Regions from separate parts of the Homo sapiens genome. Here regions 2, 3, 4, 5, 6 and 7 are each linked to region 1. Evidence: promoter capture Hi-C in 16 types of primary human blood cells and fetal thymus (Javierre and others, 2016). All regions are on one chromosome and are shown on one strand. The core of a region is centred on a gene start or on the middle of the fragment in contact, and the rest is flanking DNA. Distances in the headings are between cores, read along the strand shown.

Evidence for each region. Contacts are between HindIII fragments. The CHiCAGO score rates a contact against its expected background, and 5 or more counts as called.
Region 2: a fragment that was not itself captured here is called in contact with the fragment with the promoter of OXSM in region 1 in 3 of 17 cell types (activated CD4 T cells, total B cells and total CD8 T cells); the score reaches 7.6 in activated CD4 T cells.
Region 3: a fragment that was not itself captured here is called in contact with the fragment with the promoter of OXSM in region 1 in 1 of 17 cell types (activated CD4 T cells); the score reaches 10.4 in activated CD4 T cells.
Region 4: a fragment that was not itself captured here is called in contact with the fragment with the promoter of OXSM in region 1 in 2 of 17 cell types (fetal thymus and total CD8 T cells); the score reaches 10.1 in fetal thymus.
Region 5: a contact is called between a fragment that was not itself captured here and the fragment with the promoter of OXSM in region 1, in 2 of 17 cell types (activated CD4 T cells and monocytes). The highest score is 6.6, in activated CD4 T cells.
Region 6: a fragment that was not itself captured here is called in contact with the fragment with the promoter of OXSM in region 1 in 6 of 17 cell types (non-activated CD4 T cells, activated CD4 T cells, total CD8 T cells and 3 more); the score reaches 9.8 in non-activated CD4 T cells.
Region 7: a fragment that was not itself captured here is called in contact with the fragment with the promoter of OXSM in region 1 in 1 of 17 cell types (activated CD4 T cells); the score reaches 6.9 in activated CD4 T cells.

What each region holds. Positions count from the first base shown.
Region 1 is chr3:25,787,929-25,791,571 of GRCh38, reverse strand. OXSM (3-oxoacyl-ACP synthase, mitochondrial) reads right to left here and starts at 1,482. Exons shown (of 3, transcript NM_017897.3): 1 at 1,425-1,482; 2 at 1-582. The coding sequence starts at 551. It also overlaps a transcript of NGLY1 not described here. RefSeq lists enhancers at 1,185-1,254, 1,265-1,334, 1,474-2,003 and a silencer at 1,437-1,656. The HindIII fragment of the contact is 1,038 bases long and covers 1,111-2,148 here.
Region 2 is chr3:33,442,395-33,446,037 of GRCh38, reverse strand. No RefSeq gene overlaps it. Among named protein-coding and RNA genes, the nearest start is that of UBP1, 3.8 kb to the right of the region's middle. The HindIII fragment of the contact is 4,305 bases long and covers 1-3,643 here.
Region 3 is chr3:33,420,886-33,424,528 of GRCh38, reverse strand. The region is part of intron 2 of UBP1 (upstream binding protein 1); the gene reads left to right. It also overlaps a transcript of FBXL2 not described here. Among named protein-coding and RNA genes, the nearest start is that of UBP1, 18 kb to the left of the region's middle. The HindIII fragment of the contact is 1,548 bases long and covers 830-2,377 here.
Region 4 is chr3:32,686,184-32,689,826 of GRCh38, reverse strand. The region is part of intron 1 of CNOT10 (CCR4-NOT transcription complex subunit 10); the gene reads right to left. Among named protein-coding and RNA genes, the nearest start is that of CNOT10, 2.8 kb to the right of the region's middle. The HindIII fragment of the contact is 4,533 bases long and covers 1-3,643 here.
Region 5 is chr3:32,102,340-32,105,982 of GRCh38, reverse strand. No RefSeq gene overlaps it. Among named protein-coding and RNA genes, the nearest start is that of GPD1L, 2.5 kb to the left of the region's middle. The HindIII fragment of the contact is 717 bases long and covers 1,367-2,083 here.
Region 6 is chr3:19,941,362-19,945,004 of GRCh38, reverse strand. It overlaps a transcript of EFHB not described here and the pseudogene HSPA8P18. Among named protein-coding and RNA genes, the nearest start is that of RAB5A, 3.9 kb to the left of the region's middle. The HindIII fragment of the contact is 1,181 bases long and covers 960-2,140 here.
Region 7 is chr3:31,541,430-31,545,072 of GRCh38, reverse strand. All of the region lies in intron 1 of STT3B (STT3 oligosaccharyltransferase complex catalytic subunit B), which reads right to left. Among named protein-coding and RNA genes, the nearest start is that of STT3B, 10 kb to the right of the region's middle. The HindIII fragment of the contact is 5,509 bases long and covers 1-3,643 here.

The DNA.
Region 1 (3,643 bases), core at 233-2,732:
AGAATCTTAGGGACAAAAAATGGGCTAACTTTATTGTAACCTTTTGTCTGAAAATTCAAAGCAGTTTCAGAAACAACTTCAAGAGGAATCATTCCCATGCCAATTGCAACACCAGTAGCCACTTGATCAGCTTCTGACTGAGGATGCCAGCCAGAATCCTTCATGGCTAATTCTGCAGCCCCAATGGCCATGATGGTGGGAGAAGACATGGACTTGATATCTGATTTGGACACAAAGTTTTGTTCATTGAACTGACCTTCATCACTACCTCTTGGCACATAAGCAGCAACACTGCAAGGGATACTCTTATACTCTTCACCAACCAGTGAAACAATTCCACTCTCTCCTCCGATAAGACGATCCCAAACCAGGTGAGTTCCAACACCAAGAGGAGTCACTAAGCCAATGCCTGTAATGACAACTCGCCTATGCAATCTGGATATTGGCACAGTTCCGAAAAACTTCCTTTTACTTCTTAACTGTTGGCATAATCTTGAACATAGAAGACGAGTGCTTGTAATTTTCAGGAAATTTTGCAGGCAGTTGGACATGATTAAGATTCAGATGATCAGAAACACATTCCTGTAAAAGACCACAACACACCTAGGAGGTATTCTTTTAAATAGCTTAAGGGCCTAAGGAAAAACATCCAAGGTGTTCCTTTGGGTGCTTGATATGAGCTGCTAATGAACACAGGGAAAATGTTACATACTTTCAATTTATACCTTAACATCAAACTATCTGTTTAAACTTACCTTCTTTTTTAGACCTTAAGTGCCGTCAGACATTTGAAGACAAATAAATGAATTGATGATTCATTCGAGTCACCAAAACAGTAATTCAATGAAAAATATAAAGGCACCTCCAGCCTGATTTGAGCTGCAGGAAGCATCCTTTGTCAGGATTACTGATAACTTCTTCTAAATAGCATTTCTGGTGTCAGTGGCACAGAAAACACATTTCAGGGCATATTCTTTTAAGTAAGTAAGTGGGCTTTATCAATCTTCAGTACTTAAGGATAACCAGCCTTTTCAAAACGCTACCCAGGGCCAAGAGCCCTAGACTGAGCGTCTGGATACATGGGTTGGCAATACACTCTGTGACCAAGCTTGCGATGGGGGAAGGGGACAAGTCTTTCCACTCCTCTAAACTTCTCCAATTGAATCATTGGTGGAAGGAGGGGTTACGACTAGTGGATCACTTCAAGGGTACTACGAAGGCCAGGGGCGGGAGTAAAAGAGTGTAGCCATTCCCTGTATCGCCTCTCAGGCACCACCACACATGTACACAGCCCGAAGAAGCATGGCGAGAGAAAAAGAAATCAGGCCCCAGGTCCTCGGACTCCCCTCTCGAAATTCAACCCCGACTTGATTTGAATGTAAAGGAGGAAAGGAGGGGCGAAGGAGGAGGGTAGCCAGCGATACCTGTAACGGGGCTACCCCGGACACTTCTCCACAGTCGGGGGCGATGACGCTCTCGAGCGCACGCGCACACGCACGTACGCTCATGCGCGCTCGCACGTACGCTCATGCGCTTTCCCACGCACGCGTCCCGTTCGACTCTCTTTCCGCCGGTTGACTTTAAGCCGCGTCACCTTGGCTGAGGTCAGACCGTGGGAGGCGGCTGGGTAGCTGTTTGCGTGAGCAGAGACGCCCCTCTCGGAACCTCAGTGACTCGCCGATAATCGAGGACCTGCCAATAACGCGATGAGGTAGCATTTTCACCCATCAAAAAGGCATTTTTCTTTGGCAGTGATAATGCCCAAATATTCCCTTTTGTCGGAGAAGGGACACCATCGTATTCTACTGGAATTGTAAGAAAGAATTAAGGAAATTCTCTGCAGTTTCAAAGTTATTGCTATAGCTCGCAACGTTATTAGTAATTGTGAGTAAAGTGGAATTAACCAAAATGGCCAACATCAGGAAATTTGTTGTGTATCTTGTGGTACATCCAAATGCCATGCAGCCGTTTAAAATAATTCTGCAGGTGAATATTTATTAATGAGATGTTGCGACTATTTGTTAGGAGACATAGTTACAAAACAGTATATATCCGTTTTTTCAAAAATAATTCTTTAAAGGTCTGCAAGATGTATACTGATTGTGATCTTTCCCTCCTTATTTTTGCTTAGCTTTATTTAATAAAGCTTTTCTACAATAAACAAATGTTTTTGTAATAAAGTTTTTACTTTTTAAAAGTTGTCACCAGGCTGTTCTGCCTATGGAGTAGTCATTCTTTGTTCCTTTACTTTCCTAATAAACTTCCTTTCACTTAAAAAAAAATTATCACCAGATTTGAGACAGTGCTCAAAAATTGTCTCCATTGTCACAATGGAGACATTTGTTTCTAAGTGTGAAAAATTCATTAACTGTTTGCTTAGAGCTGACTGCAAACCGATAAAGGGAAAATATAACATGAAAATGTAAAAAAGCAAGAAGTCGACAAGATGGTATTCATCGAACATCTGTTTTTCACATGCTATCCCAGGCGTGAGTTTTGTCCTTGCTCTTCTTTAGAAAAATGGTTGAGCATAGAATCTTCATCTGGACCTTCTAGTCATATTTATGGTTTTTTCTGGGCAATGCCTCTTGAAGCCATTGTTTCCAAGTAGAGTGCTCTGCATTCTTTCCTACCCCTACAGAAGAATGTGAGTCAAGCTTAGCTTTCCAGGTTGGTCCTGGATTTAAATGAGTTTGGAAATCTATTTTGTTTAAAATAATTCAGCAAAGCTCAGTTTGACCTTCGTCCCAGGCCTAACCAGTCACCTCTAGTTGATCCTCATTCAGTGACAAAGTAGAGTTTCTTGAAGAATTAAAACAAACACATGTGGTTATAAAGTAACACTTGATGAGTAAGTACCTAAACTTGATCTCTTTTCATTGCTGTCTTTAAAATAATAGTGTGAAAATACCTACAATATTTTCTCTGAAGCTGAACTCATAAGAAACATACAGTTTTAATGTGCTATTTCTTTTGTAATATCACAAAATCGTCTTGGCTAAGAGGTGACAAAATCTTTCAGAAAAATAAAAAGACCATCATTTTTGTATCTACCTCTTATCACCTTTTCTTTGATCTGGAAAAGGGTGGGAAATTTTATGATATTTAATGGCTTTACATATTTGGTACCATATTTCCTGCTACAATTCCATCGTGTCTTCTTGCACCAAAATCTTCAAATGGGCTCTGCTTATCCTACCCTCCTATTAAGACTTCCTAGGTTTGCCTTAAATTCTTTGTAATCTGATTCAAAACTATCTTTCCAATTATGGCTCCCATTCTCTATTAAATGAGCTTGCCACCCAGCAAACTGATTTTCTCACTATACATGTCTTGATTGACCCTAACTTTTCTCATCTCTGTGCTTTTGCTATTTTCAACAACCACTCATTTTCTTCCTATCAATGCTTGAAGTTTGAATGCAAAAATGAGTAGAGGTATGGCTCTTGCTTTCAAGAAGTTTATGGTCTAGTAAAGGGAGACACCCATAGAAACAAGTAAGTGCAAACTGTTGAAACAGGTGCTATAGTGGAATTATTATAACACAAAAGGGACAATGAGGTCTGTGCTACCTCGTAAAGTCAGAAAAGGCTTCAGAGAAATGATCCTTGAACTGCATCTTGGAAATGAATGTTTGTCTAGT
Region 2 (3,643 bases), core at 298-2,797, 7.7 Mb before region 1:
CTCTTAATTTTTTCCTTACATATGCCTCTATAGACAATAAAAATAAATAAAAGTCTTATATGCACTCATAGAATATAGTTTTATTTATAAAAGATTTCAAAGCCAGTCTTCTAACAAACAACCTTGTGCCTTAATAAATTAAAAAATAGGCTGGGTGCAGTGGCTCATGCCTGTAATCCCAGCACTTTGGGAGGCCAAGGCAGGCAGATCACGAGGTTAGGAGGTCGAGACCATTCTGGCCAATATGGTGAAACCCCGTCTCTACTAAAATACAAAAAAATTAACCAGGCATGATGGCGGGCACCTATAGTCCCAGCTACTCAGGAGGCTGAGGCAGGGGCATCACTTGAACCCAGGAGGAGGAGGTTGCAGTGAGCCGAGATCGCACCACTGCACTCCAGCCTGGCAACAGAGCAAGACTCTGTCTCAAAAAAAAAAAATTAAACAATTAAAAAACCCCAATATAGATAACTGATGTTAATACCTTTATTACCTCATAATCAGTCAAAAACTTTAGTCCACTCCTCTTAACCAATATCATAAATTTAAAAAAAAACATTGCCAGGAGGCCTTCAGTCTTGTAGATACAGACATCATTTATTGTCTCTTTTTCCATAATTTAGAATAAATGAAGCAATGATTAGAAATTTATCCCTCATGGCCAGGCATGGTGGCTCACACCTGTAATCCAACACTTTGGGAGGCTGAGGCGTGTGGATCACATGGTTAGGAGTTCGAGACCAGCCTGGCCAAAATGGTAAAACCCTGTCTCTACTAAAAACACACACACACACAAAAAAACAAAAAAACCTGGGCATAGAGGTGCACGTCTGTAATCCCAGCTACTCAGGAGGCTGAGGCAGGAGAATCACTTGAACCCAGGAGGTGGAGGTTGCAGTGAGCCGAGATTGTGCCACTGCACTCCCGCCTGGCAACAGAGTGAGACTCTCTCAAAAAAAAAAAAAGGAAAAAAAAAGAAATTTATCCCTCATGGCCGGGCGCGGTGGCTCACACCTGTAATCCCAGCACTTTGGGAGGCCGAGGTGGGTGGATCTCCTGAGGTCAGGAGTTCAAGACCAGCCTGGCCAACATGGTGAAACCCCATCTCTACTGAAAAAAAATATACAAAAAATTAGCTGGGCATGGTGGCGGGTGCCTGTAATCCCAAAAACTCAGGAGGCTGAGGCAGGAGAATCACTTGAACCTGGAAGGCAGAGGTTGCAGTGAGCCAAGATTACACCATTGCACTCCAGCTTGGGCAACAAGAGCAAAACTCCATCTCAAAAAAAAAAAAGGCCGGGCATGATGGCTCACGCCTGTAATCCCAGCACTTTGGGAGGCTGAGGTGGGCGGATCACAAGGTCAGAAGATCGAGACCATCCTGGCTAACATGGTGAAACCCCGTCTCTACTAAAAACAGAAAAAAATTAGCTGGGTGTGCTGGCGGGCACCTGTAGTCCCAGCTACTCGGGAGGTTGAGGCAGGAGAAAGGCATGAACCCGGTAGGTGGAGCTTGCAGTGAGCCGAGATCGCTCCACTGCACTCCAGCCTGGGTGACAGAGCAAGACTCCGTCTCAACAAGTAAAAAAAAAAAAAAGAAAGAAAAAGGAAATTTATCCCTCATAGTAGACTCTATAGCTGACTCTACTGCAAAGGCCATGGCACAACAGACTTTAAGTTCTCTTGCTAAAGTTGTGCTAGATAACGGAATTGCTGTATATTACTTACTGAGATACAGAGAAGTATGTATCTCTGTATGCAGATACTTCTCTGTATCTGCATACAGAGAAGTATGTATCTCTGTATGCAGATACAGAGAAGTATCTGCAGTTGCTCACACTTCTTGTTGCACAGAGATGAACATATCAGGTATTATAGAGATTCAGTTACAGGGGATTAATAAACAAGCTGCTTGGTTAAAACAGCTTGATCTTTTATCTAGCTCTTTCTTTGATCTATTTGATTTTAGTTAGTTTAGTTCATGTTGACCCTGGCTAAGGGGCATACTCCAAAGTCTTGGTATTATCCTCTTGGTAATCTTAATAGTAGTCTCCTATGTGCACTAAGGACTTTCAAAAGTTTTAAATGTTTACATACAATCATCCATAAAATGTCCATAAAATTTAAATAAATAAAAATTCCAACATAATAAAAAAAAAGTATCCTCTACTCTAACGCTTACCAGAAAATAACCTAAAGTCCTTATTCGCACCTTACAAAACCCACTGTTGTACTATTTCCCAATGGGATTTGCGACCAGATAAGTACATTTACAATGGTCAGAAAGTAATGTCAATGTCTAGGATTTTGGTCAACCTCTCTATTTTGGTCAAGTTGAGAGGTTGAACAAAAGGGGAGAAATTGTTAAATTGAGTTTAGCCTAAAGTTGCCTCCTTATAAGTTCAGCCTAAAGGTTTCTCTGTACACAGTAAATTGTAACCTAACTGGATGTATAAATGGTCTATAACCTATTATAACAATCGCTGAGTTTTGGCTAATTACAGGAGGCCAACTGTTCAAATAATACACTCAACCAATCAAGCTGTTTTTATATCTCACTTCTGTTTTCCGTACATCACTGTCCTTTTTCTGTCCATAAATCTTCTTCCACCATGCAACAGTGTTGGAGTCTCTCTGAACATATTCTGGTTCGGGGTGGCTACCTGATTGACAAATCTTTTTTTTGCAAAATTAAACTCTTATATTTAATTTGTCTAAAGTTTTCTTTTAACACTATCCTTCTTTTATATTTTGGTCTCTTTATGACATTACTATTTAGCGCTGCTTGATACTTCTATTTTTTTTCCAGACAGGGTCTCATCTGTCACCCAGGCTAGAGTGGCATTATCATGGCTCACTGCAAGCCTTGACCTCCTGGTCTCAAGTGATCCTCCCACCTCAGCCTCTGGAGTAGCTGGGACCACAGGTGCAGGTCACCATGTCTGGCTAATTAAAAAAATTTTTTTGGCCAGGAGCGGTGGCTCATGCCTGTAATTCCAGCACTTTGGGAGGCTGAGGCAGGCAGATCACGAGGTCAGGAGATCGAGACCATCCTGGCTAACACAGTGAAACCCTGTCTCTATTAAAAATACAAAAAATTAGCCTGGTGTGGTGGCGGCCGTCTGTAGTCCCAGCTACTCGGGAGGCTGAGGCAGAAGAATGGTGCGAACCCCGGAGGCGCAGCTTGCAGTGAGCTGAGATCGCACCACTGCACTCCAGCCTGGGCAACAAAGCAAGACTCTGTCTCAAAAAAAATTTTTCTTTTGTAGAGGCAGGGGTCTCGCTCTGTTGCCCATGCTGGTCTCAAATTCCTAGCCTCAAGAGATCCTCCCCTCTTGGTCTCCCAAAATGTTGGGATTACAGTTGTGAGCAACCATGACCAGCCAACACTTTTATTTCTATCCTCCAGAACTCTAATTTTTTTTTTGTTTTTTGTTTTTCGTTGTTGTTGTTTGTTTTTCTAAGGACAGGGTCTCATCTTGTCATCCGGGCTAGGGTGCAGTGGCACAATCATAGCTTACTGTAGCCTCAAACTCCCAGGCTCAAGTGATCCTCCTGCCTCAGTCTCTCTCAAGTAGCTAGGACTACAGGAGCGTGCCATCATGCTCAACTAATTTTTTTTTTCTTGTAGAAGCGGGATCTT
Region 3 (3,643 bases), core at 354-2,853, 7.6 Mb before region 1:
TTTTGGTCTGTTTCTTGAATGTATATACATTTTCTTTCAAAAAATTAGAATTATACATCTGTTCACTTGAGTATATAGTGTTTATTTTTCTGTCATTAAATAGAATTTTTACTCGAAGTTTTGGAAAGAGCAATAGATTTTAGACTTTTACATGTGATTAATCTGAAATGTGGAAGAATAACTTATTTCTACCTTTTCATTTGATATATAAGTTTAGAATCTATAAGGTTTTACCTTCAGGTAGTCCTGTCTCTGGCACTTGTGACAATTCCCTGTTTGTTTTTATATTTAGTGTTTGGATAGGCAATCACTTATTTGAGAGTTAAGTTTTATATTTGAAAGAACCTTAATAACTTATTTGGTAATCTGTTGTAGACATAAAAATAACAGAAGAAACAATGTAGGGGCAAGGATATTCACTGTAACTTTATTTCTAAAGATAAAAAAGGAAATAACCTGAATTTTCCTTACTTGTGGAATAGTCGATTAAGTTCTGTTACATACATACCATGGAATGAATTAGTACACATATACACCCTGTTTAAAGCAACATGTAGGATGTGCATTTATTGGCCTGGGGGAATGCCCATAATTTATCATGGTTGTTCTTAAACCAGATAAAGATATTTCATATCGATAAAAGTCATAATCCACCATCTGTAGTAGTGATATAGTAGACTGACATTAATTGATACTGTGCATCTAGCATTGTACTAAATACATGTGTTAACCTTATTCAGTTCTCACAGTAACTCTAGGAGAGATTTATTCATTTATAGATTAAACTTAGAGCAGTTAATTACCTTGCTCAGTGTCCATTTGGAAAGCTTAGGTTTTAACAAAATTTTTTTGAAGTATTACAGTAATGTGCACAAATCTTAATGAATTTTTACATATATATTCCCTTGAAACTACTACCTATTTCCATCTTTTCCAGTACTCCAGCAGGCTCCCTTGTGCCTCTTTCTCAGGTGATACCTCACTTGAATATAATCAATGTAAGGGCAGGTGATTTTCTTGTCCTTTATTCTGCTTACTGCAGTATTAATGTTGAGTATTTTCTTGGTTCTGGAATTGTGTTCATTTATTTCTTGATTTTTTCTAGTCTTTTCAGAAAAAAGGTAGAAAGCTGAACTGTATATGTAGACATGTTTAAAACAACATACATTTTAGTAATTTTAAAAAATATGGGCCGGGCACGATGGCTCACGCCTGTAATCCTAGCACTTTGGGAGGCCAAGGTGGGCGGATCCATGAGGTCAGGAGATCAAGAGCATCCTGGCCAACATGGTGAAACCCCGTCTCTACTAGAAATACAAAAATTAGCCAGGCATGGTGGCACACACCTGTAGTCCCAGCTACTCAGGAGGCCAAGGCAGGAGAATCACTTGAACCCGAGGCAGAGGTTGCAGTGAGCCAAGATCACACCACTGCACTCCAGCCTGGGTGACAGAGCGAGACTCTGTCTCAAAAAAAAAAAAAACAAACTTTTTTTTGAGTAATTTTAAAGGAACTGTACTTTTATGTACCCTTTTAAAAGAAATTATAACTTTCAAAATAATACCTATATGAGTATCATATATAATATAGTGTGTTGTGCTTTGCACAGACTGTATCTTAGCATTTATCATCTTGACAAAAAGTTTTAAACCCAAAATTTTCCATGAATCCTTAAACAAGTTTTTAATTTTCTATAAATGTATATTTTCTTCCTTCCCTTCCTTTTCTTTTTCTGCTCCCTTTCTCTTCTCCCCCTTTCTCCCCCCCTCCTCCTCTCCCTCCCCCTCTCCCTTCTTTCTCCCTCTCTTTTTGGTCTTGCTCTGTCACCCAGACTGGAGTGTAGTGGTACAATCATGACTTATTGCAGCCTTGACCTCCCAGGCTAAAGTGATCCACCCACCCTAGCCTCCTGAGTAGCTGGGACTACAGGCACAGGACACCATGCCTGGCAAATTTTTAAAAAAAATTTTCGTAGAGATGGCGGATCTCACTATTCATTGCCCACGCTAATCTCCGACTCCTGGGCTCAAACGATCTTCCTGCCTTGGCCTCCCAAAGTGCTGGGATTATAGGCGTGAACCACTGAACCTGGCCTTTTTTTCTTCTTTCCTCCCTCCTCCCTTCTTTTCTTTTCCTTTTATTTGTTTGTTTTTAGAGACAGGATCTTGCTATGTTGCCCAGGCTGTTTTTGTACTCCTGGGCTCAAGCAGTCCTCCTGCCTCAGGCCTTCTGAGTAGCTGGGATGTAGTCCTTAAAGGTATATTTTTCTAATGAGAGGATTCATAGCTTTTTCTAGATTTGGACAAGGATTGGACCAGACTGAGACATTTCTGAGTATCTTTCACCCTACCTCTTTGTCTACTGAATAATAGAAGCTTGCTAATTTAAAGTAATAAGACAAACAAAGATCCAGACTAGCAAAGTATCTTCAGCTCACTAGACTTGCTTTTCTTTTTCTTTTTAATTTTATTATTTATTTATTTTTTGAGACAGGGTCTCACTCTGTCTCTTAGGCTGGAGTGCAACGATGCAGTCTTGCTCACTGCAACCTCTGCCACCCAGGCTCAAGGGATTCTCCTGCCTCAGCCTCTGGAGTACCTAGGACTATGGGCACATGCCACCATGTGTGGCTAATTTTTGTATTCTTAGTAGGGATGGGGTTTTACCATGTTGGTCAGGCTCGAACTCCTGGCTTCAAGTGATCCACCCACCTTGGCCTCTCAAAGTGCTGGGATTACAGGTGTGAACCACCACTCCCAGCCGAAATGGTCATTCTTGATGAAGAATATTTGCCACTATGTAATGCTGTAAAGAAAATAAAAATCAAATTTGGTATAGTCTTCACTTTGTCAGTAGAAATTGGAGCAAGTTTTCCTAGTTGTATTGATGTCTTAGTGTCATTTTTTGAGTTCTTTTTGAACCTCAGAGGGACTGAGTTTAAAAACTTATTTGTGTTTAAGGCTGGGTGCGGTGGCGCATGCCTGTAATCCCAGCACTTTGGGAGGCTGAGGTGGGCAGATCACGTGAGGTTAAGAGTTCGAGACCAGCCTGGCCAATGTGGTGAAACCATCTCTACTGAAAATACAAAAGTAGCTGAGCATGGTGGCGCACGCCTGTAGTCCCAGCTACTCGGGAGGCTGAGGCAGGAGAATCACTTGAACCTGGGAGGTGGAGGTTGCAGTGAGCCAAGATTGCACCACTGCACTCCAGTCCCCCGCCCCCGCCCCCTGCAAGAAAAAAAGCAACCTGTGTTTGTGTTTCCCTGGTTATGCCTGAATAAGAAGAGGAGTTAAGTCCCTGACTTTAACTCTGGAGTAAAAACTGTAGTCCCAAAATGGAGCCACCAGAGGGTGGAGTACACATAGCTGGCTTTCCCTTTGGGCAGAGATCTGGCTGGAATAGGCTGCCTTTTGTCTTAACAGCTGGGGGCTGAGCCTGTGATGCTTCCACACCTGATAAATATGAGTGAGACTTCTGATCTTACCCCCTTGCTGACTTGCTACTGCTGGATCAGCCCCTAACTCTTCAAATGAAAAGAATTTCTCCTTGTTAGTCCCCAAATACATTTTCATTTGGAGACCAAATTCTACTTGGAGAATACGCTGCTAAGAATGTTAATTAACCCACCTGTAATCCCAGCATT
Region 4 (3,643 bases), core at 566-3,065, 6.9 Mb before region 1:
CACGCCACCATGCCTAGCTAATTTTTTTTTATTTTTTACGGAGACAAGTCTGGCTATGTCGCCTAGGCTGGTCTTGAACTCCTGGCCTCAAGCGATTCTCCCACCTCAGCCTCCCACAGGTGTGAGCATCTATGCCCAGCCTTAAATTATGTGTTGAGTGTCTCTTGTCAGATATTGTTCTAGGGACTAGAGCTAGAACACAACTAACACAGACAAAAGTCTCTATCTTCGGGGAGCTTGTATTCAAGGGGTCTGCTTGATGTTCTTTAGACATTTTCCAAGCAAGGGTTCTGTACATTTGCATATTTGTTGCTCCTCTTACCTGGATCATTCTTCCCAACACAGCTGGCTCTTTATCCTTAGGGTTTCTGTCTAAATGTCAACTCTAAGAAAGCCCTTCTCTAATCTATCTGAAAAACAAGGCTTTCAGTCATCCTCTATTCTTTTTTTTCTTTTTCTTTTTTTTTTTTTTTGAGATGGTGTTTTGCTCTTGTTGCCCAGGCTGGAGGGCAATGGCACGATCTTGGCTCACTGCAACCTCTGCCACCTGGGTTCAAGTGATTCTCTTGCTTCAGCCTCCCGAGTAGCTGGGAATACAGGCGTCTGCCACCACGACCAGCTAATTTTTGTATTTTTAGTCAAGACAGGGTTTCAACATGTTGGCCAGCCTGGTCTCAAACTCCTGTCCTCAGGTGATCCACTCACCTCGGCCTCCCAAAGTCCTGGGATTACAGGTGGGAGCCACAGGCACCCGCCAGCAGGCCCTGCTAATTTTTTTGTATTTTTAGTAGAGACGGGGTATCACTGTGTTAGCCAGGATGGTCTCGATCTCTTGACCTCGTGATCTGCCACCTCGGCCTCCCAAAGTGCTGGGATTACAGGCGTGAGCCACCACGTCCGGCCTTTTATTTTATTTTTTTGAGAGAGGGTCTCATCCTGTTGCCTGGACAGTGGCGTGATCAAAGCTCACTGCAGCCTTGAACTCCTAGGTACAAGCAATCCTCCCACCTCAGCCTCCCTAGGAGCTGAGACTATAGGCACACACCATGATATCTGGCTTTTTATTTTTTAGAGTCAGGGTTTCACTTATGCTGCCCAGGCTGGTCTCAAACTCCTGGCCTCAGGCAATCCTCCCACTTCAGCCACCCAAAGTGCTAGGATTACAGGTGTGAGCAACTGCAGACAGCCTCTCTTACTCATTTTTTTCTTCTGAGTATTATTTTTTTTTTTGAGATGGAATCTCACTCTGTCACCCAGCCTGGAGTGCAGTGGTGCGATCTCGGGTTGCTGCAACCTCTGCCTCCCAGGTTCAAGCAATTCTCCTGCCTCAGCCTCCCAGCTAGCTGGGATTACAGGTGTGCGCCAGCATGCCTGGCTAATTTTTGTATTTTTAGTAGATGGGGTTTCACCATGTTGGTCAGGCTGGTTTTGAACTCCTGACCTCAGGTGATCCACCCCCCTCAGCCTCCCAAAATGCTGGGATTACAGGTGTGAGCCACTGCACTTGGCCTTCTTCAGAGTATCTATCACAACTTGAAATCATCTTATTTTTCATTTTATTTACATGCTTATCTGTCCTTCATAGTAAATAAGCTCCAGAACAGAGACTTTGTTTTGTTCCTGCCCAGTTCCTAAAGTAGTACCTGGCAAAACAGGCCATTGGTGAATATTTACTGAATAAATTAATATCACAACATTAACTCATCTTAGGTGGTCTCTAGGCTTCCTGTCTTACTTCATTTAAATCCACCACCTACAACAGTCAGTGTGATCAGATCACTCACCTTAAGTCCTTTCATGACCCTTTTTTCTTACCTGATGAAGAACACACACACAAGACCCTCCGTGACAAATATCCTGACCTCGTGAGCTCAGAGAGGAAGCAGCATGTAAGATAGACTGAATGAATAGTGTTCACCAGACGGAGAAGAGAAAGGACACTACGGCTCAAAAGCTCAAAAAACACAATGCTTTGCAACAGTAATTTATGATGTGAAGAGCTGGGTGGGTTGATACAGAAATCCAGCTGGAAATAGATTTTGAAGATGCTCACAAACCACATTAGAGTGAGGACGGCAGGGCGCGGTGGCTCACGCCTGTAATCCCAGCACTTTGGGAGGGCGAGGCAGGCGGATCACAAGGTCAGGAAATGGAGACCATCCTGGCTAACATGGTGAAACCCTGTCTCTACTAAAAAATACAAAAAAATTAGCAGGGCGTGGTGGCGGGCGCCTGTAGTCCCAGCTACTCGGGTGGCTGAGGCAGGAGAATGGCGTGAACCCGGGAGGCGGAGCTTGCAATGAGCCGATATCGCACCACTGCACTCCAGCCTGGGTGACAGAGCGAGACTCCGTCTCAAAAAAAAAAAAAAAAACAAAAAAAAAAAACCGTGAGGACTTAAAAGGAGAAAGAAAATACAATAAAAATTAAATAAAAAGAATGATGACTTGATGCCCAAAGCATGTACAGTCTTAGAAACTTTATAGGAAGGGGAATGACAGGATTCAATGAATGTCTTAGGACATAAAAAAAGCGGGGGGCGACAGTGAGGAAAATGGATGGGATAGGAAGAGACAAGAGACAAACACCAGTGAGAAGACTACTCAATGCGACATAGATCATATTAAAAGATAAAGGCCAGAAACACAGCAGATGAGATGGAGATGAGCAGAGATTCAAAGGAGCTACACTAAACACTCATCTATTTTATTCAAATTTAACCTTATATCAAAGCAGGAAGTTTCCTTCAATATGGCCTATAAACTTAAACCAATGAAAAAAACAGTCCCCTAATCACTGTGGACCTTATTCTTCAACTACACACATTACACAGCTCTTACCAAACAGGAGTGCAGCTAGGATATGCCTGTCTCCTCCAACAGACTGAACAGCAGGTCTTCAAAGGCAGGGAGTGTGTCATATCCATTATTCAACACTCAATCTTTGCGAATGAATAAATGAACAAGTAGAAGGCTTTATGACTGAGGATTTGAAAACTGGATGGGCTTTAGGTCTAAAAGGGTGATTTCGGGCAAGCGCAATGGTATGAGCAAGTAGGAATGGTAAATGTGGGGAACACAGACACTATTCTAAAATAAGGAGGAAGATGTTGGTCCCCTGGTCCAGCCTTGGACAGGCCATGCCGTTTTCCTGTCTAATAGTCTCTCCCTCATCCACCTTTCCTCATTTCTTATGGCTCATTCCCTCACTTCTTACATATCTCTGCTCAAATATCATCTCACCAGAGGCCTTCCCTGAACAACCTATCCAAAATTTCACAGCACATTCCTTATACCCTCTCAAGGCCTTTGTTCTGTTGTTTTTCTTCTTAGATTATTGAAGAGATCCTCTAATGATTTTTATTCCTCTGTACCTAAAATAGAATTGGCTTAATTTCCAAGTGAAGTTCATTTGTCAGTTATTGTGACCAGAACCTACTAAAATCCACAGCACACTGAGTTTTTCTTTAATTTTAAATTAAATTCACTGTAAAAATTTTAAGTTCCATCACTTTTAAATCCTGTCACTTAAGTTCTTTCCAATAAAACCTGGATGCCACAAAGAATATGAATTTCTTGCGGGAAACATTCCGGACAAGGTCAGGAAATAATTTTATATTCCTTAATGTGGAAGATTCTAGGAA
Region 5 (3,643 bases), core at 476-2,975, 6.3 Mb before region 1:
GTGGCTCACACCTGTAATCCCAGCACTTTTGGAGGCCGAGTCAGGAAGATCACTTGAGCCCAGGAGTTCGAGACCAGCCTGAGCAACATAATTAGGACCCCCCACCCCTCTGTACAAAAATTTAAAAAATTAGCCAAGCATGGTGGCACGCACCTATAGTCCTAGCTACTCAGGAGGCTGAGGCGGGAGAATTGCATGTGCCCAGGAGGTCGAGGCTTCAGTGAGCCAGGATAGGGCCACTGCACTCCAGACTGAAGGACAGTGAGACCCTGTCTCAACAAAAAATAAATACATAAAAATAAAGGGAAAAAGGTAACAACAGCTTGCATTCAGTGGGTGTCACCCTCACACGCTTACTTGGCAGGAATTGCTTTACCATTGTCTTTGCCCAGGGCCTGACTTATCCCTTGCTTGTGGTTTGTTTGCATTTGTGAGTAACACAATGCTCTCCTCCTTGACAAATAGAATCTTAGTTTGTTCATTCTGAGCATCAGTCTCTGCCAGGCACTGTGCTAGACGCTGTCAGAGTAGGACAAAGTCCTTTAAACCAGTGGTTCTCAAACTCTGCTGCATATTAGTCACTGGGGCTTTTAAAAATCCCCATGCCCAGACACCATTGCAGGCCAGTTACATCAGAATGTCCCATGGTGGGATCCAGGCATCAGGATATTTACTTATTGACATATATTTTTTGAGACAGTCTCCTTCTGTTGCCCAGGCTGGAGCAGAATTTTTTAAAGTTCAAGAGGTAGTTGCAAAAGCAAGCCAAGATTGAGAACCAGAAGACTAAAATATCAGTGGATTCTGGCTAAAGAAACAAATACTCTAGTACCTACAAAAAACTAAGCCTAGGCCGGGTGCCGTGGCTCACGCCTATAACCCCAGCACTTCAGGAGGTCGAGGCAGGCAGTTCACCTGAGGTCAGGAGATGGAGACTAGTCTGCCCAACTTGGCAAAACCCCGTCTCTACTGAAAATACAAAAAATTAGCCAGGCATGGTGGCAGATGCCTGTAATCCCAGCTACTCAGGAGGCTGAGACAGGAGAATCTCTTGAACCTGGGAGGCGGAGGTTGCAGTGAGCCGAGATCTTGCCTGGGCGACAAGAGCGACACTCCGTTTCAAAAAAATGATAGTAATACTAAGCCTATTAGTTTGATGCTCAGAGAACTGTTATTTTTGCTTTTTTCTCTACATTGTATGAAATATTTATTTGTGTTACTTATGATATTTACTTAAGGAAATACTTAAAGGGAGCTGGTGAGTCAGAGCAGTCTTTCCATCCCCTCACCAATGGTTTGTTCTCAATTATTTGCACTAATGCAAGGATACATGCAGGGATAATGGGAAAGATGGACTAGTAAAGCTTTATTAATCCTTTCTGTATTTGTGTAACAGAACGCATTTGTCAAATTGAATAATGAAGTCATGTCCTTGGGTAGTACACATACACTGCAAATATTTATGTTATCTAACTGAACTAGGGTCCCTTCACCTGACACAGTAAGGCCAAATACCCACACCAAGGTTTGCAGAGGGAGAAAGAAGGGTGTTTATCTGTAGGGTACCAAGCAAGGAGAATCAGGTAGCTCCTCCTTGATGGCTGGCAAGTAAGGGTTTTTAAAGGCAGCTGGGGGCCAGGCGCGGTGGCTCACACCTGTAATCTCAACACTTTGGGAGGCCGGGGTGGGAAGATTGCTTGAGCTCAGGAGTTCAAGACCAGGCTGGATAACACATACCGTGTCTCTACAAAAAATTAAAATTAGCTGGGTGTCCCAGCTAGTCGGAATAGGCTGAGATGAGGGGATTACTTGAGCCTAGGAGGTCGAGGTTGCAGTGAACTGTAATTGTGCCACTGCACTCCAGCCTGAATGAAAGAGCAAGACCCTGTCTCAAAAATAAAAAGTAAAATAAAGGTGCGTGGGGCAGAGGTTACAGGCAAAGTCATAAATCAATACATGGAGCTACACATTGGTTTGACCTAAAAAAGCAGGACATCTCAAAGTGGGGGAGGGGGACCCACAGGTCATAGGTGAATCAGAGATTTTCTTTTTTGCAATTGGTTAAGGAACTTTAGACAAAGCTTTGTCTAAAAATTTGGGGTCAGTAGAAAAGAACGTTAGTTCTCAGCCTGGGCAGTATAGGGAGACCCCATCTCTACAAAAATAATTTAAAAATTAGCTGACCATGCTGGCACAGACCTGTGGTTCTAGCTACTTGGGAGACTGAGGTGGGAGGATTGCTTGGGCCTGGAAGGTGGAGGTTGCAGTGAGCCATGATTGTGCCACTGCACTCCAGCCTGGGCAACAGAGTGATACACTGTCTCCAAAAAGAAAAAATAAAAGAAAAAAAAAGAATGTTAGTTCTGATTTGCAGACATGACTTTCAGGCCCCTCTGAAAGACGTTGAAGAACAGTGGTCAGAGTTCAATCCTCAGTTCCTCCTTATCTGAGGTCTATATGCCAGTGGATACATTTCGTGAGGGTCTGGGTTTTTAAAAAACAACTCAGGGACATAGTTAAGATGCATCATTAGTTTCTATAGGGACCATCTTCTGACTCTAACTTCCTTGGCTTTTTATTTTTGATTTTTTTTTTTTATTTTGAGGTAGAGTCTTGCTCTGTCATCCAGGCTGGAGTGCAGTGGCACAATCTCAGCTCACTGCAACCTCTGCCTCCCAGCTCAAGTGATCCTCTCCCTCAGCCTCTCAAGTAGTTGGGACTACAGGTACATGTCACAATGCTAATTTTTGTATTTTTTGTAGAGACGGGATTTTGCCATGTTGCCCAGGCTGGTCTCGAACTCCTGAGCTCAAGTGATCTGCCTGCCTCAGCCTCCCAGAGTGCTGGGATTACAGGCGTGAGCCACTGTGCCCGGCCTTGGCTATTGTTTTAAGCTACTATTACCTTCTTGCTTATTAATTTGCTCATTTACTTCTAAAGGCTGGGAAGGTGCCTGGAATTTCCCTTGAAGGAACTCAAGATTTTCTGTTATTTCCATGCTTGGGAGATCCACAGGCCTTTAAGAGAGGTCCCTGCTCTTAAATGATTTTGTAAAGGTCCCTTTACACCAAATGATTCATTTTTAGCAGTTGCCTAAAAGTTTTTAGTTTATTTTAAAAAAGGTTTTTTTTTGGTAGAAACAGGGTCTTGCTACGTTGCTCAGGCTGATCTTGAACTCCAGGTCTCAGGCAATCTTCCTGCCTTGGCCTCTCAAAGTGCTGGGATTATAGGCAAGAGCCACCACGCCTAGCCACCTAAAAGTTTTTTGTTTTTTTTTCTTTTTTTTAAATTTTTTGGGGGTCACGTAAAAGTTTTGTACCTTCTCTGGAAACTCTTATTCCTGAATATTACAACTACATTTGCATGAACGTGAGCTACCCACCTATTCTGTGTGTTGGGGTGATCAGACCCAACACTAAGCTGTGGGTGCTACGAAGTCCAGCAGAGTCAAAGGAATGAGAAAAGACAAGAGAGAAAGTGGGACCAGGGGGCCAACGCTAGTATGGAGGCTGCAAAGGCCCTGAGCTCTGGGAGCCCACGCTATTTATTGGTGATAAAACAAAGAAACAGGTGGTGAGGATGTGGGGGTTGGAAGGAAGTGGCGTATCAAGCGAATGAGCTATAGCTGTGAGAGTTTAGCATT
Region 6 (3,643 bases), core at 301-2,800, 5.8 Mb after region 1:
ACTCTGTATAATGGCTGTCTTAAAATCTGCCTTATTTTAATAGCTAATGAGCACCTGGACTTTTCTCCTTAGCCTTTCATTGAATTATAAGGTTTTTAAGGGCTGTGACCATCAGTTATTCATCATTTCAGTTCTTCACAGAAGACCCTTGACTGCTATAATAGGGACCCCCAAAGTATTGGTGAACTTAATTACATTTAGAATCACGAACATTAAGAAGACCTCACAATGAAAAACATTTGATGCTGAAATTTATAAATTGCAAAAAACTCCCTATTTCATCGTTCCAGTATGTTGCTTCTTCACTCGTTCCTGTTTAGTGATTTTGTCTTCACCTCCTTCATGAATACTTTTCACAATATTTTACAGTTTAGTCATAATGTTTGCCTGGAAGAGTGCTGCCCTGGTGGCTGGCATTTCTAAAGATCCGGTAGTAGTTTTAGAGAAATTGAAATGACACAGTAAAGCTCTGTTGTTTTATTGCCACTTGCAATATGCCTATGTTTTCTTTTTCATAGCCCCAGATAACTGAGGAGGACTGATAATTGTATATATTTTAGTGTCAAATGTGGAGTCCTACCAGTTGATAGAACTTGTTAAGGAAGGTACAAAATGGATAAATAATCATGAAGACTTAAACACTGTCTTTGATGCTTATACTGCCCTCAAATCTCTAAATACTCAATAACAAATTCCCAGTGGCAGGTGTCTCTCTACCATTCACAGGATCCCATAACCTTTTCCTTCTCTTCCAGGAAATCTGTCCTCCCTTGTGTAGCTAAAGAATGAATCTTTGCATAGATGATAATGAATGGTTACATTTACTTTTAACTGGAACTGTCTGGAGACAATTCAAAATTTTTCCTGGAGACAAACCAACGGTAACTCTAACATTGGCGTAGTAGCAAGTCAGTGAATAAAAGGCTGTGAAAACTTAAGCTAGTCATGTTTCAAAAGCTTGTGTCTTTGGAGGGCATCATTCAGGCTTCAGCTCAAATGTCATCTACCTAAGGGACTTCTAAGCCCACTAATTCTAAATGCTTTGTTACATATCGAAGTAGTCTGTTGTCTTCATAACAGCACTGTTTGATATGATATTATGCATTGTCTTCATAACACTTAGCACCATTTGATATGATATTACGCATCGTTCCACTTAATGGTTATCTATCCCTACTAGAATATAAGCTCCATGAGATAGGGGTTGGGTTATACAGTCAGTCCATCTGCTTGTGATTGGTTCTTGGACACTCCCTTATTCCCCCACCATATGGGTACCAAAATTTGCAGATGCTCTAGTCTCATGTAAAATGGTGTAGTATTTGCATGTAGGCTATTCTGTATGCTTTAAATCATCTTCAGATTACTTACAATAAGTAATACAATGTAAATGATATGTAAATAGTTGTATTTTTTTAATTTGTATTATTTTGTGTTTTTTTCATTTTTTAACTCAAATACTTTCGATGGAATACAGAGGGCTAACTGTATTCCCAACACTGACACAAAATAGGGAGGGACTCAATACCTGTTTGTAGAATGAATGAATGAATTGAATGAGCCCTTACCTGGATTTACATACTGCAAAGTCATTTGAAGAATTTATGGGGATTTATTGAATGCTGTGGCCACTTTTGGGGTTCCTATGTCTTTCTTCAGAATCCAATCCGGCCTACATGCAAACAACCCTGTTTAAAGGACCTGCAGTTGGTATTCATCTTGGCACCATCTACTCTTGTGTGGGTGTTTTCCAGCATGTAAAAATAGAGGTAATTGCCAATGATCAGGGAAATTGAATCACTCCAAGCTATGTCACCTTTACTGATACTGAACAATTGCTCAGTGATGCCACAAAGAATCAAGTTGCAATGAACCCCATGAACACAGTTTTTGATGCCAAATCTGATTGCTGATTGGACACAGACTTGATTATGCTGTTGTCCAGTCTGATATGAAGCATTGGCCCTTCATGGTAGTGAATAATGTTGGCAGGCCCAAGGTCCAAGTAGAATACAAGGGAGAGATAAAAAAAACTTCTGTCCAGAAAGGTGTCCTCTAGGGCCATGGACTGGTACTGGACTGTGGCCTGTTAGGAACTGGCTGCCCAGCAGGAGGTGAGTGGCAGCAAGTCAGTGAAGCTTCATCTGTATTTACAGCTGCTCCCCATCATTCACATTACCACCTGAGCTCCCCCTCCTGTCAGATCAGTGGCAGCATTAGATTCTCATAGGAGTGTGAACTCTATTGTGAATTGCACACACAAGGGATCTAGCACTTCTTATGACAATCTAATGCCTGATGATCTGTCACTCTCTTCCATCACCTCCAGATGGGACCGTCTAGTGGCAGGAAAACAAGTTCAGGGCTCCTACTGATTGTACATTATGGTGAGTTATATAATTATTTCATTATATATTACAATGTAATAATAATATAAAGTGCACAATAAATGTAATGTGCTTGAATTGTCCTAAAACTATCTTCCCCCGATCCTACCCCCTGCAACTTGGTCTGTGGAAAAATTGTCTTCCATGAAACTGGTCCCTGGTGCCAAAAAGGTTGGGGACAGCTGCTCTGTTATTCTGACAAAGATGAAGGAAATGGCAGAAGCCTACCTTGGAAAGAGTGTTACCAATGCTGTGGTCACAATATCAGCTTGGTTTAATGATTCTCAGCATCAAAGCTACCAAAGATGCTGGAACTATTGCTTATCTCAATGTACTGAGAATTATCAATGAGCTAACTGCTGCTTCTATTGCTTATGCCTTAGGCAAAAGGTTGGAGCTCAATGAAATGTGCTGATCTTTGACCTTAGAAGTGGTACTTTTAAATTTTTATTTATTTATTTTCTTGAGATGGATTCTCGCTCTGTCACCCAGGCTGGAGTGGTGCGATCTCGGCTCACTGCAATCTCTGCCTCCCAGGTTCAAGTGATTCTCCTGCCTCAGCCTCCTGAGTAGTTAGGATTACAGGTGCCCACCACCACGCCTGGGTAATTTTTTTTGTATTTTTAGTAGAGACGTGGTTTCACCATGTTGGCCAGGCTGGTCTCAAACACCTGACTTCAGGTGATCTGCCCCCCCTCAGCCTCCCAAAGTGCTGGGATTACAGGTGTGAGCCACTGTTCCTGGCCTTTTTTTTTTTTTTTTGATGGAGTCTCACTCTTGTTGCTCATGCTGGAGTGCAGTGGCGCAATCTTGGCTCACTGCAACCTCTGCCTCCCGGGTTCAAGCGATTCTTGTGCCTCAGCCTCCCGAGTAGCTGGGATTACAGGCATGCACCACCATGCCCAGCTAATTTTCGTATTTTTAGTAGAGACGGGGTTTTTCCATGTTGGCCAGGCTGGTCTTGAACTCTTGACCTCAGGTGATCCGCCTGCCTCAGCCTCCCAAAGTGCTAGGATTACAGGCGTGAGCCATTGCGCTTGACCTGGAAGTGGCACTTTTAATGTGTCAGTCCTCACTGTTGAGGATGGAATCTTTGAGGTGAAATCTACAGCAGGAGACACCCACTTAGGTGGAAAACACTGACAACCAAGTGGTCCACCATTTTATTGCTGAGTTCAAGTACAAGCATACAAAGGACATCAGTGAGAATAAGAGAGCTGTCTGACATCCCCATACTGCTTGTGAACATGCTAAGT
Region 7 (3,643 bases), core at 846-3,345, 5.8 Mb before region 1:
GCATATTAAAATAAAAGCCTTCTTTAGCGATGGTCTAGAGTAAAAATCATCTTGGGATTGCAATTAAACTTATATGGAACAAGGTTATTAAATTTTAAAAATTAAGAGCATATGCAATGTTCCCCCCCCGCTCCCTGAGACAGAGTCTTGCTCTGTCACCCAGGCTGGAGTGCGGTGGTGCAATCTCGGCTCACTGCAACCTCTGCCTCCTGGGTTTAAGCAATTCTCCTGCCTCAGCCCGTCTAATTTTTGTATTTCTAGTAGAGATAGGGTTTCATCATGTTGGCCAGGCTGGTCTCAAACTGGCTAGTCTGGAACTCTTGACCTCATGATCCGCCTATCTCGGCCTCCCAAGTGCTGGGATTATAGGCATAAGCCACCGCGCCCCGTGCAAATGCTTTAAGTGTCAATGTCTTCAACAAACCCTGCTCACTGTAATAGATTTTTTTAAAGGCACACTGATGGACAAAGATTTGTTTTTAAAACAGCACACATTTTTAAAAGCAAAAACATCTTGTGAGATCATTACAGCATACTGTTTTAGGATTCACAGGAATACTGCCATTATTACATGGAATGATTCTATAACTAAAGAGCTGACCATTTTGTCAGGATTCAATGCATAATAAAAGAAAATAAAGACTTTATCTGGTTTATTTAACCCACAATATCTACAATATTCAATGATCCTCTCCAGTAATTAGACAAGAACAAAGCTATTTCCATTGCAAAGACACTTTAATGAAGACAAGCAACTTATTTTATCCCTAATGAGTATTTTTATTTAGTATCCTTTAACCTCTTATGGGAAAGTTTAAATGAGATCAGTCAGAGCTGTGATGGTTTCCTAAAGTGTTGCTTAATTTGCATATTAATTAACTATAATCATAAAGTTAAATCAAGAGCCATGAAACCAAATGAATCATTAATCCAACCCCACCCAAATTCATCATGTGCATGAATTTAGTATATTCTAACTAATGCCTATGTATGCAATGATAATTTCAATTCTTACTATTCCTTCGTATCAGAATATATTTCTCAAGTTCAATTAAAATGGCATCTTGTGAATTTTACTTCTATTGCTGTCATCTGTCTTTTTTCATTTCTCATTTGAAAAATAATAAAACTTTCATAACTCATATGGTTTTTGTATATTAACTGGTCTGTCTTCTCTTATTCAATGTTCCCTAACTAGTGAGTTAACACTGGAGACAGACCTCTGTAAGAGTTACTTGTACTTGGAAGAAATACTCAAGAAACTAAAATCTTCCTCAAAGTTCTTCCTAAGTTATCCATCCAGCCATTCATCTCCCAATTGTTGATGGCTGTCATGATGCTCACATATACCATTTCTTCCATAAGCATTATCCCTTTTCTTCATCAACTCTTCCCTTCTTCTATAAAGAATAATATGACATGTGTATTGAAACTGGGATTATGATGTTCACTGCACATGTGATCTTACTGACATCACAGTCAAATCCAAAATTTCAAAGTATTGCACAACAGAGACTTACTGTACTATTACTATTATGACCAAAACATAAAATGTGGTTACCATTAAAGATAAAGGATCTGTCTTAATATTCACTGTGCACTCACTATGTTCCTAATACTGTGTAGGATATTCTAGAAAGATTAGAAAAATGTTCTTGCCTTAAAGAATCTTTTGCCTCCCTACAATAATAGTAGTAAGTTATTATTATATTCATTAGAGGAAAAATGAGCACCAAAATTTAAATAATCATAACAGTACCTTACCAACTTTGGCAAAGAACAAATAACTTAAGTCTCCTTGAGTGTTTTTACATGCACAGGTGTTAAAATCTTCAAAATGGCTCTGGCCTAGTTAGCCAAATAAACAGTCCTAAGTAAAATTTAGTTTGTTTTGTATTAATAAAACCTGTACCTAGACCTCTCACGTAAGACACAGATGATCAATTGTGATTTCTGAGAGAAGTAGGCCTGGAATTTATTTCTTTCTCTTTTTTTTTTTTTTTTTGTGAGATGGAGTCTCACTCTGTTGCCCAGTCTGGAGTGCAGTGGCGCAATCTCGGCTCACTGCAACCTCTGCCACCCGGGCTCAAACAATTCTCCTGCCCCAGCCTCTCGAGCAGCTGGGATTACAGGTGCCTACCACCATGCCCAGCTAATTTTTGTAGTTTAGTAGAGACAGGGTTTCACCATGTTGGCCAGGCTAGTCTTGAACTCCTGACCTCATGATCCACCCTCGTGTAACCCAAAGTGCTGGGGTTACAGGCGTGAGCCACCACACCCAGCCAGCCTGGAATTTTTCTTAACAGTCAATATATCTCAGAAAAGAATCTCCATTTGAGGAATTCTACAAGAAATACACTAGAGGCGTTAAAAATAGCTTAAATCACTCAGTTGGACCATCATCCAAATAGAGCCTAATTTGAGCCATTTATATTACTCTCTGGCAGGTACACATGGGATTTTGTGAAGATGGGATACAGTACGTATACCCACCCTAAGACACTTGGTTTAAATATTAAGTTTGAATTCTGTAGAAATACTGGCTGACTAAACAGAGTTTGAAGAAAGACAGTCCTAGATTTAAATTTTTCTTCAACAAAGAATTAACTATGACAGAAATGCAATATATGCAAAATTGCTACATCTACACAAATAAACAACAAAATACCTCAAAACCAGGATTGACAATCTCTACAAATATATCAATACAGCAAACAGTCCATGCCCAGGGTTTTCCTAAATTCCTCAGCTCAGACCTCCAGTTCCAGTATTCTCTTTCCTGCTTTCAAGAAGTATCAAGCAACCAATGCCTTCTTTATGCCAATTTTAATATACAATACTTTAATAGTTGACAAAAAGCCATAGTTTAAAACCAGTCATTTTGCATTTATCTGATTATCATTTGTCTCCTTAAAGACGATGTCTCTCTCTTCTCTCCCACCCACTTTCTTGTATTTTTGGTTTCTGTAGAAAAATTAAATCTCTGGACAATTAGTACCTTAAAACAAAGTTGTCAAAGTTACTCTAGTCAAGGATGACTCCACCTCAAGGGTTCAGCCTTGAGATAATTTTTTTAAATCTCAAGTGAAAAGAAAAATACCTTCCCTTTCTCTTTCCTAGAGGCACCTCCCGCTATAAAAGAACAGGCAACCCCGTCAGGTGAATAAGACACCTGGTTAGCCAAATTATTGCTGAAATGCCGGGCGTGGTGGCTCACGCCTGTAATCCCAGCACTTTGGGAGGCCGAGGAGGGTGCATCACGAGGTCAGGAGTTCGAGACCATCCTGGCTAACACGGTGAAACCTCGTCTCTGCTAAAAACACAAAAAATTAGCCGGGCATGGTCGCGGGCGCCTGTAGTCCCAGCTACTCAGAAGGCTGAGGCAGGAGAATGACATGAACCCAAGAGGTGGAGCTTGCAGTGAGCTGAGATCGCGCCACTGCAATCCAGCCCGGGCAACAGAGAGAAACTCCATCTAAAACAAACAAACAAACAAAAAAATTATTGCTGAACTTTATTACTTACGTACATATTGTCAACAATCCTTTGACCAACAAGGATGAATCTTAAAGAAAATGCTCAGCCAAAAAAAAAAAAAAACAAAAAAAGAAAAAAAAAGACACAAAAGCCACAATTCCATTTA